Linked DNA regions of Homo sapiens: region 2 is linked to region 1. The links are contacts of gene promoters, found by promoter capture Hi-C in human tissues and cell types (Jung and others, 2019). All regions are on one chromosome and are shown on one strand. The core of a region is centred on a gene start or on the middle of the fragment in contact, and the rest is flanking DNA. Distances in the headings are between cores, read along the strand shown.

Region 1 (6,269 bases), core at 2,139-4,638:
GGTTATTCTTTCTAGTTTAAAGAAAATGACCCTTAGACAACATTTCAAAAAGTCAATAACATATTGTTTATAAGAGATACCAAAAAATGGGACATTGGAAGTAAAAATGGAGAACACTTTTCTATCAAATAAGAACCTAAAGAATGTTGAGAGTTGTTTGTTTGTTTTGTAGTTTTCAGCATGCAAATTCTGAACATGTTTCAGTAAAAATGTACATCTAGTATTTCATTTTTGGTGCTATTTTAAATGGTACTTTCTTTTTAAAAAATTGATTTGTGAAAGGAAAATAAAAAACTTGGGACCTCAATTCACCCATCCAAAAGAAAAAAAATTAAGCTGGAAGCTGAGTCATAGAAGAAGCTGCCTCTCCTTTTGTTCCTAAGCAGAAAGCTACAGATAAAAGGTTGAGTATCTTCACAGGTAGCTGCTCCATGTTCACCTGACCTTATGAAAAGCGTGGATTACTGAGCACAAGACAAATATATGATTGACTGTTTCCCTACATGTTCCTTTTCTCTTGCCACCTGTGGATGACCACACCCTCCTTCTTTTCCCCACCAGCCCACTTCTCCCTTTTAAATATTGAGGCCCTCAAAGTCATCTTTGGAGAAAGACACAGACCACAGACTGTTTCTGTGATTCTGGTTTTCTTTTCCTTAACATTGGCAAAATAAACTTCTCAATTGATTAAGACCTGTCTCAGATACTTTTTGACTTACAAATTGTGACCAACAGAAGGAACTCTGAGTGGAGGTGGTCCTTTGACAAATCTCCTGAGGACTAAACTCTGATTTTTTTTTTTTTTTTTGAGACCGAGTCTTGTTCTGTCACCCAGGTTGGAGTGCGGTGGCACGATCTCAGCTCACTGCAACCTCTGCCTCCCAGGTTCAAGCTATTCTCCTTAAACTGATTTTTTATCATGCCCAAATTCCTATCTAAGGGACCTGGGGAGTCATGCCATACAAATCATAAATTGTCATTAGCTGGGTTTTATTTCACCCTATATATTGTGACTTACTTTCCAACCTGTCTCTGGCATAACATTGTAAGACAAGGACGAAAATCAAAATGTTTGACCCCCAAAACATGTTTCTTTGCCATATCTTGAAATGGCCCTGTAAAGTTGTCCTTTGTGGGGGAAAATTTGCATCTCTAAATAATCTGAATTAATATAGCTAGATCTTTTTCTTCCAGGCCCTCCCAATCCTAAAGAGATTAACTAAAAGTCTAGCACCTTTTAAAGATCTGAATAGGAAACATTTGCCATCTATTGTCTCTAAGGGCAGCCACTATAAGACTCTAAAACAACCTTGGTCTCCACAATCTTTTATCTTAACCTGAATATTTCCTTTCTATAATCCCAGGTCTTTAGACAAACTCAACCAATTGTCAACCAGAAGATGTTTAAATTTACCTATAACCTGAAAGCACCTGCTTTGTCCACCTTTCTGGTCCAAAACAATGTATTTCTTAAATGTATTTGATTGATGTCTCATGCCTCCTTAAAATGCATAAAACCAAGCTTGTATAAAATGTATAAAACCAACCGCCTTGGGCACATGTTCTCAGGCCCTCCTGAGGGCTGTGTCATGGGCCATGGTCCCTAGTATTTGGCTCAGAATAAATCCCTTCAAATATTTTACCAAGTTTGATTCTTTTTGCAGACACTCCTATCGATGCTCAGTATCAGTTTGGGCTATCTTTATTGCTCAAATTAATAGGACAATTTGCTGAAGTCCGATTTGCTGAAGTCCAGGAGTATCCCCTTCTACCCCAGAGAATCCCTGATCTCCCAACATTCGGTTGAGATCTGAGGTTTCTTTTGCTGAGCAACTCCTTTTCTGGAGTTTCAGCTCGATTCCAACAGGGAAGGCGAGTTTGGGACTTTTCCTGTTTCTGAGACAGTAGAGAGCAGTCTTCAGCCTGGGCCCCATTTCTAGGTAAGTAGCTGAATTGGAGTTTTGTCTTGAAAATTCTCCCTCATGACTAAAAGTTAAGATTGACCACCGCCTGGTCTTCATTTCTGCTTCCATTAGAGAGCTCAGTAATCATATTGCCAGAAATTATAAGTTCCTCTTCAAAGCTTCTTTGGTCTTTCTTGCTCTGTACACAGCCCTTCCTGCTTAATCTGTAATGAGCACTTGTTTTTCTGCTTAATCTGTAACCTGCAAACCTCTTACTCTGTAAACAACTCTTCCCACCTAGTTGGTAAGGAACAGCCTCTCCCTTCCCGCATAATTGGCCTTATTCAATTTCAAACACTAGCCAATCGGGTCAGTTTAGACTGTGCAGTCCAACTCCAGCCAATGGGGAAAGGACACAGAAACAGGAACTGCATCAGCCAATGGGGAAAGGACACAGAAACAGGAACTGCATTAGGGGTAAAAACCCCTGCCCTCCCAGCTTGGTGTGCTCTTGCGATTGTGACTGATGCAGGCAGCACCCTTCTGCAGAAGTAAATGTGCCTTGCTGAGAAATTTTCTGCCTGGTTTTCTTTGCAGCACCAAGCATTTTTTTCTAACAATATAGTTTGGTTTCATTGTCGTTTTGGTCTTTCTCCCATTGGATTTGACCATCTCTACCTGACTTGGCCAAATCTGAATGAGAATTCCACACTATGGGTAACAAGCCCTCTGGATTGGCTAAAATTCCTTGAAGCTGCAAAAGAGAAAAAAAAAACATTCACTTGATTTCTCTGTGTGCTTCCTTTCTTAAAAAATTATTCTTTTATTTTTCTTCCACCCTATTTCTCCCAAAAAGGGGAAGCCCTTTTGCCATCTTTGGTACCAAGTGAAAAAAATGTCTACAGAAGGGTTCTAATTGAAGCGGCGTTGTTGTCTGGGGTAAATACCTGAGGTTTGTCATCTCACACCAGGGAAGTTGAGGATGCAGACACACAAGAAGTGAGTTTAAGATCAGAGGCTTAATAGGCAAAGGAAAGAGAAAAGAGGATAGCTCTCTCACCTGCGGAGAGAGAGGGGCGTCTGAGTGGGTCTTCCAGGTCCTTGGTGAAATGCACGAGGTTTTATAGACGAGCTTGAGGAGGCAATATCTGATTTACATAGGACATGAGAGATTGGTCAGACTAGGCATGCCATTTGCATAGTGCACAAAGAAGCTGGCCGACCCACCCTAATCTTTTATTATCCAGATGGGGTCTCTACCTGGCCAGTGTCATATTGCCTGCCTTTTACCACACAGGTGGCGACCAAGAAAAGGGAAGGGGGATCCTTCATGTTGAACAGACTTGGCTTCCAGGTATCCCTCTTCTATCACCACAGCTGCTAGCATTTACCTATGTAAGCTTTTAGCTTGTTTATCTATACTTGCAGCTTGATTTTTCAGGCTGCTTTTTGTTAGGAAAGAAATGATTGGGGGCTGCTTTTTATTAAAAGGAAACCTTGCTGAGGACTCTCTTACCCTCCTTATCTGCCTGAATTTCTTTCTCACTCCTGTATCATAATGACTTGGATCCTTAAATAACTCAGAATAAAGGCACCACTCACCCTGTGCGGGGGTGTTCTGCTTTCTGTGTGGAGTTTTCAGAGTCATGGCAGGTTTTTCTTAGGTCTAAAGTTCTGCTTTCCTGTATTGCATTACTTGACTTCTTTGACTTTTAGAGATACCAGAGATTACTCTGTACTGTGAGAATATTTGACCTTGGTGTGTGTCATGGCAGATGAGAGCTACAACGTTAGGGAAGGCTGAGGACAGTTTACAGGAAATGGTCATTACTACAGGGGGCCACTCATTGCACATTTAGATCAGAAAATTGTGCATGCTTTCTTGGCTCTGTTCCTTAGAGGGCTCCACCCTAAAGCCAGTGACCTAATCAAGCTCCGCTGAAAATACTACCTATCAAACTAAGTCACTTCAATAAAATTCTGTGTAAAGGAAATTTATGTCTTTAAAGGAAATTTCCATTTTGTAAGGACATCTCTGTCTCTGCGTCTAAACCACTAGGAACTTTAACTAAGGGGGAGACAATGGCTTCATTTACATAACAGACCTTGCCTTTTTTAGATCCAAGTCTGTGCCTTTGAGATGTACATTTTTTACCTTGCTTCACCTAAGTCATGTATTTGGAGATGTAAATTTAGAGTTACCTAGTTAACAATTGTTTAAGACATGGAATAGATAATCAAGAGATTAGTGGTATAAAGTAGGGAAGAAAAAAACTTTGAAAACAGGCAAGTGAAACATTTTAAATCCCTAAGATTTGCCTCTGTCTGTGTCTGTTAAGTCTGTGTGTTTATGTGTCACATGGAAACAATATTTCACTACCAATCATATGAAAGAGCTCTAATTAGTTGGCTTAAAGAAAAGTAAGTGTTTGTAGACTAATAGAAGCTAGCCCAGAGGCCTTTCAGCTCACATGACTTTAGTAATCTTTGGTAAGATTAATTTGGTAAATGTAATCTCACAATTCTCTCCAGTAATTGAAAATCTTAAAGTCATGTTGTGTTAAATTAAGTCATCCTAGGTTTTTTGCTGGAAATTAGGGTTTCTAAGAGAATAGTAGGAAAGTAAGATGCATTTTTGGTGAAGTTTATTTAAAAAACATGAGGATGTGGTTTTTGCTCAATGAAACATATTTTTTTTCTAGTTTAAAGGACCTTTCTGCTGGTGTCGAAGATAAAAACCGCTATTCACATCCAACCGTTCTTTTGTAAACTGGTGAGTTTGCATTGGTACCTCCTGGCTGGAATTCCAAGGCAAAAGCTATGGGACCTTTATTTGTGTGTGTGTGTGCGCGCACGCGTGCACATGTGTGATTGTGCGAGTGTGTGTGTGAGTGTGCATGTGTGTGGTGTGTGTGCGAGTGTGTGTGTGCATGTATGTGAATGTGTTCATGTGCATGTGCAAGTGTGTGGTGTGTGTGTGCGCAAATGTATGCATGTGCGTGTGCGAGTGTGTGGTGTGTGCGAGTGTGTGTGCACGTGTGTGTCATGTGAGTTTTGTGTGTGCGAGTGTGTGCATGTGTGGTGTGTGCATGTGCGAGTGTGTGTGCAAATGTGTCAGTGTGTGCATGTGTGTGTGCGTGTGGTGTGTGTGCATGTGTGTGAGTGTGTACGCGCGTGCATGCTTAGGTGTGTTTATGTGTGCATGCGTGTGTTTTGTTATGTGTTGTGACCACAAGGTACCAAATTGGCTTAAAAAAAAAGGAGTGCCAATAAATTAAGTAAATAAGTGCAAATACTTTTCAAGTTCATATGACTTCAGTAAATCTTTAATAAATAACCTAACTTTAAAATAATTGGTAAAATAAAATTAGAAATGTCTTCAGAATTGTCAACATACATTATTATTTAGATTTATTGGTCTAATGTTAATTTAATAAAAACAGTAAATCCTGTGTTATTGGCCAAAAAATTCATTTATTTAACCTTAAGATTCTTACTTAGGTAAACACCTGAAATTCACTGGCTATAAAAATGGTCAACAAGGAAATAACTTTAAATGATGACTGTAAGCCAAAATATATCTGAGACAGGTCCCAATGAATTTAGAAGTTTCTTTTGCCAAGGTTAAGGACATGCCATGTGAGCCCCCAAAATCTGAGACAGGTCTCATTTAATTTAGAATGTTAATTTTGTCAAAGTTGGGGACATTTGTCCACGACACAGCCTCAGGAGGTCCTGATGACAGGTGCCCACGGTGGTCCAAGCACAGTTTGGTTTTATGCATTTTAGGGAGACATGAGACATCAATCAACATACGTAAGATGAACATTAGTTCAGTCCGGAAAGGCGGGACAACTCGAAGCTGGGAGGGGGGCTTCCAGGTCATAGGTAGATAAGAGATAAATGGTTGTATTCTTTGGAGTTTCTGATGAGCCTCTCCAAAGGAGACATCAAATATGTATTTAACCCAGTGAGCCGAGGGATGATTTTCAATAGAATGAGAGGCAGGTTTGCCCAAAGCACTTCCCAGCTTGACTTTTCCCTTTAGCTTAGTGATTTGGGGGGCCCAAGAGATTTTCCTTTCACACCCATGACGCAGCCTCAGAAGGTCCTGATGACTTGTGACCAGGCTGGTTGGGCCACAACTTTTTCACACATTTTAGGGAGACATACGACATCAATCAATACATGTAAGATGTACCTTGGTTCAGTCCAGAAAAAGCCAGACAGCTGGAAATGGGGCCTTCCAAGTCATAGGCAGATGCAAAGATGTTCTGATCAGCAGTTGGTTATTACCTAAAGACCTGAAATCAGTAGAAAGGAATGTCTGAGTTACGATAAGGGGTTGTGGAGACCAAAGTTTTA
Region 2 (6,097 bases), core at 3,411-5,910, 100 kb before region 1:
TGCAGCATCATTCTCTGGAGATTCATCCTATTGTTGCATTTATCAATAGTTTATTCCATTTTACTTCTGAGTAGTGCTCTATGGTATGGATGTACCACAGTCTGTTTAACCATTCACCTGTTGGAGGAAGTCTGTGTTTATAGATTTGGGCTATGACACATGTATAGGTTTTTGCATGGACATCAGTTTTCATTTCCCTGGGACAAAGGCCCAGGGGTTCTATTGCTGGATTCTATGCTTGTTACAGGGCTCATTTTGTTTTGTTTTGCTTTGTTTTATTTTGTTTTTAACCTGTCAAGCCATTTTCCAGATCCAGTTTCCATGCATCCTCACCAGGCTTCAGTATGATCACTATGATCTTATCTCAGCCACCTTAATAGGTATGTACTGATATATCATGGCTTTTATTTGCATTTCACTGATGACTAATGGTGTTGAGCATCTTTTCATGTGTTTATTTGCCATCTGTATATCCTCTCTAGTCAAGTGTCCCTTCATGTCTTTTGTTTACGTTCTATTTTTGAAACTGTTGAGTTTTGAAAAATTCTTTATAAAGTATAGAAACTAATTCTTTGTTGAATATGTAGTTTGTCAATATTTTCTTTCAGTCTTTGGCTTGTCTTTTTATTCTGTTAACAGGGTCTCTTACAGAGCAAAAGGTTTTTATTTTGATGAAGTCTATTTTAACAATTTTTCCTTTTATGGATCATATTTTTGGCAACAAATCTAAAACCTCCTGACCCAGCTCCATATGTCAAAGATTTTCTTGTTTTCTAAAAGTTTTATAGTTTTAAGTTTTATGTTGAAGTCTATGATCCATTTTGAGTTAATTTTCATACAGGGTGTGAGACCAAGGTTGTGGTTCTTCTTTTTCTTTGGTGGTTTTGTCTGTGGATGTCCAGTTGCTCCAGCCCGTTTGCTACAAAAGCTATCTTTCCTCCACTGAATTACTTTTGCATCTTTGTAAAAATGTAATTGGGTGTATTTGTACAGGTCTGTTTGAGGATTCTTTATTGTCTGTCCCATTGATCTATGCATCTGTCCATGTGCTAGCTATATAAGTCTTGAAAGGGTAGCCTGTAGCTGGGTGTGGTGGCGAGAGCCTGTAATCCCAGCTATTCGGGAAGTGGAGGCAGGAGAATCGATTGAACCCAGGAGGTGGAGGTTGCAGTGAGTCAAGATCGTGCCACTGCACTCCAGCCTGGGTGACAGAGTGAACTCCATATAAAAAAATAAAAACAAAAATAAAGTAGCGTGATTTCTCCCACCTTATTCTTTTTTAAAAAAGTTTTAGCTATTCCAGTTCCTTTGCCTTTCCATATAAATTTTAGAATAATCTTGTCTATATCTACCACAATTCTTTCTGGAATTTTGATAGAAATTTTGTTACATCTTTATATTATTTGAGAGAAATGATATTTTTACTATGTTGAGTCTTCTAATCCATGGATATAACGTCTCTCCATTTGTTTAGATCTTCTTTGATTTATTTTATAATCATTGCATTGTTTTCAGCATACAAATCCAGCATATGGGTTGTTAGACTTATGCCTAGGCATCTCATTTTTTTAGCCATTATAAATAGTACTGTGTTTTTAAGTTTAGGGTCCATTACTAGTATGTAGACACACAATTGATCTTTGTATATTTATCTTGTGTCCTGCAACCTTGCTGAACTCACTTACTAGTTCTAGGAGGTGTATTGTTTTCTTTTGTTTTGTTTTTCAATTTCTTGGGATTTTCTACAGAGATAATAATGTCATCTGCAGATGCAGTTTTCTTCCTTCCTTTCCAATTTGTATGTCTTTAATTTCCTTTTTAAAAAACCTATATTACTCTGACTAGAACTTTCTGTACTATGTTAAATACAAGTGGTAGAGTGGACATCCTTGCCTTGTCCCTGATGTTAAAGAGAAAGCATTTGTAACTGAGTATCCCAGCCTCAAAATGTGCTTAAAAACTTTTTTCCTTTCTTGCTTTCAGCCTTGAAACATACTTCGAAACTCTTTATTTCTCCCTTTCCCACCAGGCACTTCCGTGAGCAGTGCTCGCTTATCTAATTATGTGCTTACTTAGAAATTCCAGGGGCCAATTTTGAAACAAACCAGGCAGAGAGACCCAGCTGCAGAATCCTCCCTCTTAGGGGGAGTTACAGGTAGCCTACCACTTCCCGGCTGAAATCAGGATGACGCAAACCAGACCTCCGGACAGACGATTGATGACTCACAATAACCATCAGAACAAGATGCAGACCAACATCCTCCTGCACCATTCCCACATATTTCCCACACCTTTTCCTCCTTAAACCCCTTCGCTCAGTCCAGAAAATCTGAATGGTCTTTTAAAGGCATGGGTCTGGCCATTCCCCAACTGCCAGTATTTGAATAAAGCTGCTTTCCTTTTACCACACCTCACTTCTCATGCCTTGACTTCTGAGCAGCGAGCAGCTGGACTTGAGCCAGTTACACATCAGTCTTTCACCATTAGAAATAATGTAGCCATAGGTTTTTTTTTCGTAGATGTTCTTTTTCAAGTTAAAGAAGTTCTCTTCTATTCCTATTTTTCTGAGAGGTGTTATCCCGAATGAGTGTTGAATTTTGTTAAATACTTTTAACAACCCAACAGGAACCACCATCAGAAGCCATCCAGAGAAACGCACCAGGCCACAAAGCACTGGGGGCCAGGGATCTTGCCCCTGCTGTCTGCCATGGGTTGACCCCCAGCCTCCAACCCTACCATCCCCTGACGGTGTCTGCAGCAGTTGAACCCAACCAGCATCTAAAAGAACACAGTTGGTGAACGAGACTGGGACACAGGGCAAGATGGGTGGACAATGGGAGGCTCCTGGAGAGCACCCGTACCAGCGAGCATAGAATTCATGGGGGTGACCTGTTCCCTGAAGCATCTGCGCGTGTTGTTCCAGCATTTTCTTCAAGGATTGAGCCAGCAGCACCAGTGTCATACGGTGCTTAAATCAATGATTCACAACCAACCAATGAAATACAAGGTGCCGGCTGGGCGCGGTGGCTCACGCCTGTAATCCCAGCACTTTGGGAGGCCGAGGCGGGCGGATCACAAGGTCAGGAGATCGAGACCATCCCGGCTAAAACGGTGAAACCCCGTCTCTACTAAAAATACAAAAAAAAATTAGCCGGGCGTAGTGGCGGGCGCCTGTAGTCCCAGCTACTTGGGAGGCTGAGGCAGGAGAATGGCGTGAACCCGGGAGGCGGAGCTTGCAGTGAGCCGAGATCCCGCCACTGCACTCCAGCCTGGGCGACAGAGCGAGATTCCGTCTCAAAAAAAAAAAAAAAAAAAAAAAAAGAAATACAAGGTGCCTGGGGTACAGGCAACAAAAATGGGGAACGGAGAAATCTTCCCGTTGAGGTAGAGACTCCAGCCTGTTTGCTCATCTCTGGTCCTGAAGAGCCCAGTCCCCGCCCTAAGGATGGGGTTTCTGCTCGGCAGCACTTGCCGTGAGAGGGGTGAGGCACTGGGTCACGCCAGCCCTTTCTTTATAGCCCCCAGGGTTTATTAGAGTGTGCATTAGTATTATTTAGCAAGCACTTGAGGGTGTCTGATCTTGGGCCAGAGAGGCACAAAGATTGTGTGGGCCCAGCACCTGCCTGCAGAGCGTGGGTCAGCCTTGGGTCCCAGGGCAGATGACGCAGGCCCGGGAACTACAGGGTCCAGGAGGGAGAAGGCAAAGTTCTGGCTCAGGTTGGCTGGGGATGAGGCCAGCGGAGCCAGGTGCCCAAGGGAGCTCAGCCACAAACTCTGAGCACAGGCTGGCAGGTGGCTCTTGATGCTCATGCCACCCATTTATCTAAAGGGATGAGATTCAAGGCCTGTCCCGGTGGCTGGGGGCCGTCGAAGCTGACGAGAGAGGGGATGTAGAGTGAATGTATATTCCACTCTACCACTTGTATTTAACAGGGAGATGGATGATGAACACGTGCAGGAAGAAACAGGCAGGACAATCCAGAGAGATCACGTGTTCTGAGGACAGCACAGCCAGGCTCCGGTACGGAGTGAAGCGGGGTGGGGCAGGCGGCGGGGTCCCTCATATGGCCCGAGGAGGCCGTATATATACTGACCTTGAACCACACAATAGTGCCCTTCTCTGCCCCTAGGAAGCTCGAGTGCAGGGTCCAGGTGGGGAAAATCAATGCAGAGTGGGTCCCAGAGTGGGCGGAAGCTTGGGCTCTAGGGCGTGCGGGACTCAGCTGGCAGCAGCCCCACGTCTCTATGGTTCTAAAGCCCAGTCCATTTCTGCTCAGCAGGGAGATGGCCAGTTCCCCAGAGGACTTGCCCAGGGTCCCAGCCGTGGCCCTGGGAGGGCTCAGGGGTGAGGGAGGAAGAATTCCGAGCCGTGGGCCCTCCCTCTGTGGCTCGGGGTGCAGACGTGCACTACCCTGCCCTGTCCTCTGGAGTCCTCCGGGCTCATCCAAGTGGGCGCATTTGGATGCAAACCCTGGACAGCATCGTGTGTCTTTTCTTCTCTGGCTGGCACTGAATTGCTGTTCACCAGATGCCAGCAATGAGGACACTCCCCCTCCCGGATGCAGGACTGGTTGCCACCATGGGGAGGGGTGCACCGTGCCACGTGCTCCCAGGACACTGGCCAGGGGGCTATAAAGAACATCTCGAGAGGAGCCAGCACAGCCTTGTTCAGACGCCCAGTGACCTGCCGAGGTCGGCAGCACAGAGCTCTGGAGATGAAGACCCTGTTCCTGGGTGTCACGCTCGGCCTGGCCGCTGCCCTGTCCTTCACCCTGGAGGAGGAGGATGTGAGCTGGGTTGGCGTGGGCGGATGGAGGAGCCAGGTGGACTCCTGGGCAGGGGGCAGTGCCAGGGGCCCTGCTTTAGGAGGTGTCACTGAAGGCTGGCTTCTGACCCCGTGCTCCCAGCCTGGGGTGGTGGTGGAGGGGTCCTATTGTTCCTCCAGCAGACACGGCCCCCCGAGGCCCAGGGCCGGAGCAGGCTCGGCTCAGGGGTTCCTGCTGCACTGACGCCTGAAGCCCGAAGGTCTCGCAGGGTTGGGCCCTGTGGAGGGAGGGCTCACCTGGTGCTGGGGCCCGGGGGTCCATGGGGTGCAGACATGCCCTCCTTCCACTGGGGGCTGGGAGCCCTGAGCAGGGGGCTGGCTCTAACTCACTCCAGCTGAGCTCTAACTAAGGTGCAGGAACCCAGCCTGCCTTTAGGGGTGGCAGCCGGGCACCATGGGTGTCTGGTTATAGCTGCAGGCCTGAGTGCCAGGGTCAGAGTAGAATCTGGGCCACCCATGGTGGGCTCACGGCCTTGGCCTGCTCCAGATCACAGGGACCTGGTACGTGAAGGCCATGGTGGTCGATAAGGACTTTCCGGAGGACAGGAGGCCCAGGAAGGTGTCCCCAGTGAAGGTGACAGCCCTGGGCGGTGGGAACTTGGAAGCCACGTTCACCTTCATGTGAGTGTTGCCCACTGCAGGGCCCCTCAGGCCACTTTCGCTCCCCGCCCCAGACCCACCTGGTGCCCATTGCCCCATCCACATTTCGGGTGTTGGGAAGAGTCACCCCCTGCCTTGGAGGGAAACAGCCAGGACATCCTGAAGCTCGGTGGGGTGGGGGGGCAGTGGAATTTTCAGGTTGCCGGGTCAGGGCCATGCACCAGGTGAGCTGAGGATGGGCCAGGTGTGTCCTGGGAGCCGCTGCCCGAGTGTCTCCTGTTTTCCAGGAGGGAGGATCGGTGCATCCAGAAGAAAATCCTGATGCGGAAGACGGAGGAGCCTGGCAAATTCAGCGCCTGTGAGCCCCTCCCCGACCCCCCACTCCCCATGCCCAACCCCGGATGCACCAGCCCCACTGCAGGTGGAGAGTGCCCAGGCCACACTTCTGCCAGGGTCCCAGCCCTGCCCACCTCCAAGGAGGGGCTGGCCTCTCCTTCCTGGGGGGCTGGTGGCCCTGACATCAGACACCAGGTGTGACAGGCTTGTCCACAGTAGAGATGGACCAGATCAAGCCTGCCCTCTGGGAGGCCCTAGCCATTGACACATTGAGGAATCCGAGTGTTAGGGACCAGGAGGCCGAGGGTTAGGGATGGGAAGCCAAGGCTGAGGGTT

The links. Contacts are between HindIII fragments. The study calls those that stand out against the background at their distance.
Region 2: a contact is called between the fragment with the promoter of OBP2A here and a fragment that was not itself captured in region 1, in 2 of the 25 tissues and cell types used here (dorsolateral prefrontal cortex and mesendoderm cells).

The regions. Positions count from the first base shown.
Region 1 is chr9:135,645,698-135,651,966 of GRCh38, forward strand. No RefSeq gene overlaps it. Among named protein-coding and RNA genes, the nearest start is that of GLT6D1, 9.3 kb to the left of the region's middle. The HindIII fragment of the contact is 6,544 bases long and covers 117-6,269 here.
Region 2 is chr9:135,541,466-135,547,562 of GRCh38, forward strand. OBP2A (odorant binding protein 2A) reads left to right here and starts at 4,661. Exons shown (of 7, transcript NM_014582.3): 1 at 4,661-4,787; 2 at 5,313-5,446; 3 at 5,713-5,783. The coding sequence starts at 4,716. The HindIII fragment of the contact is 6,727 bases long and covers 1,765-6,097 here.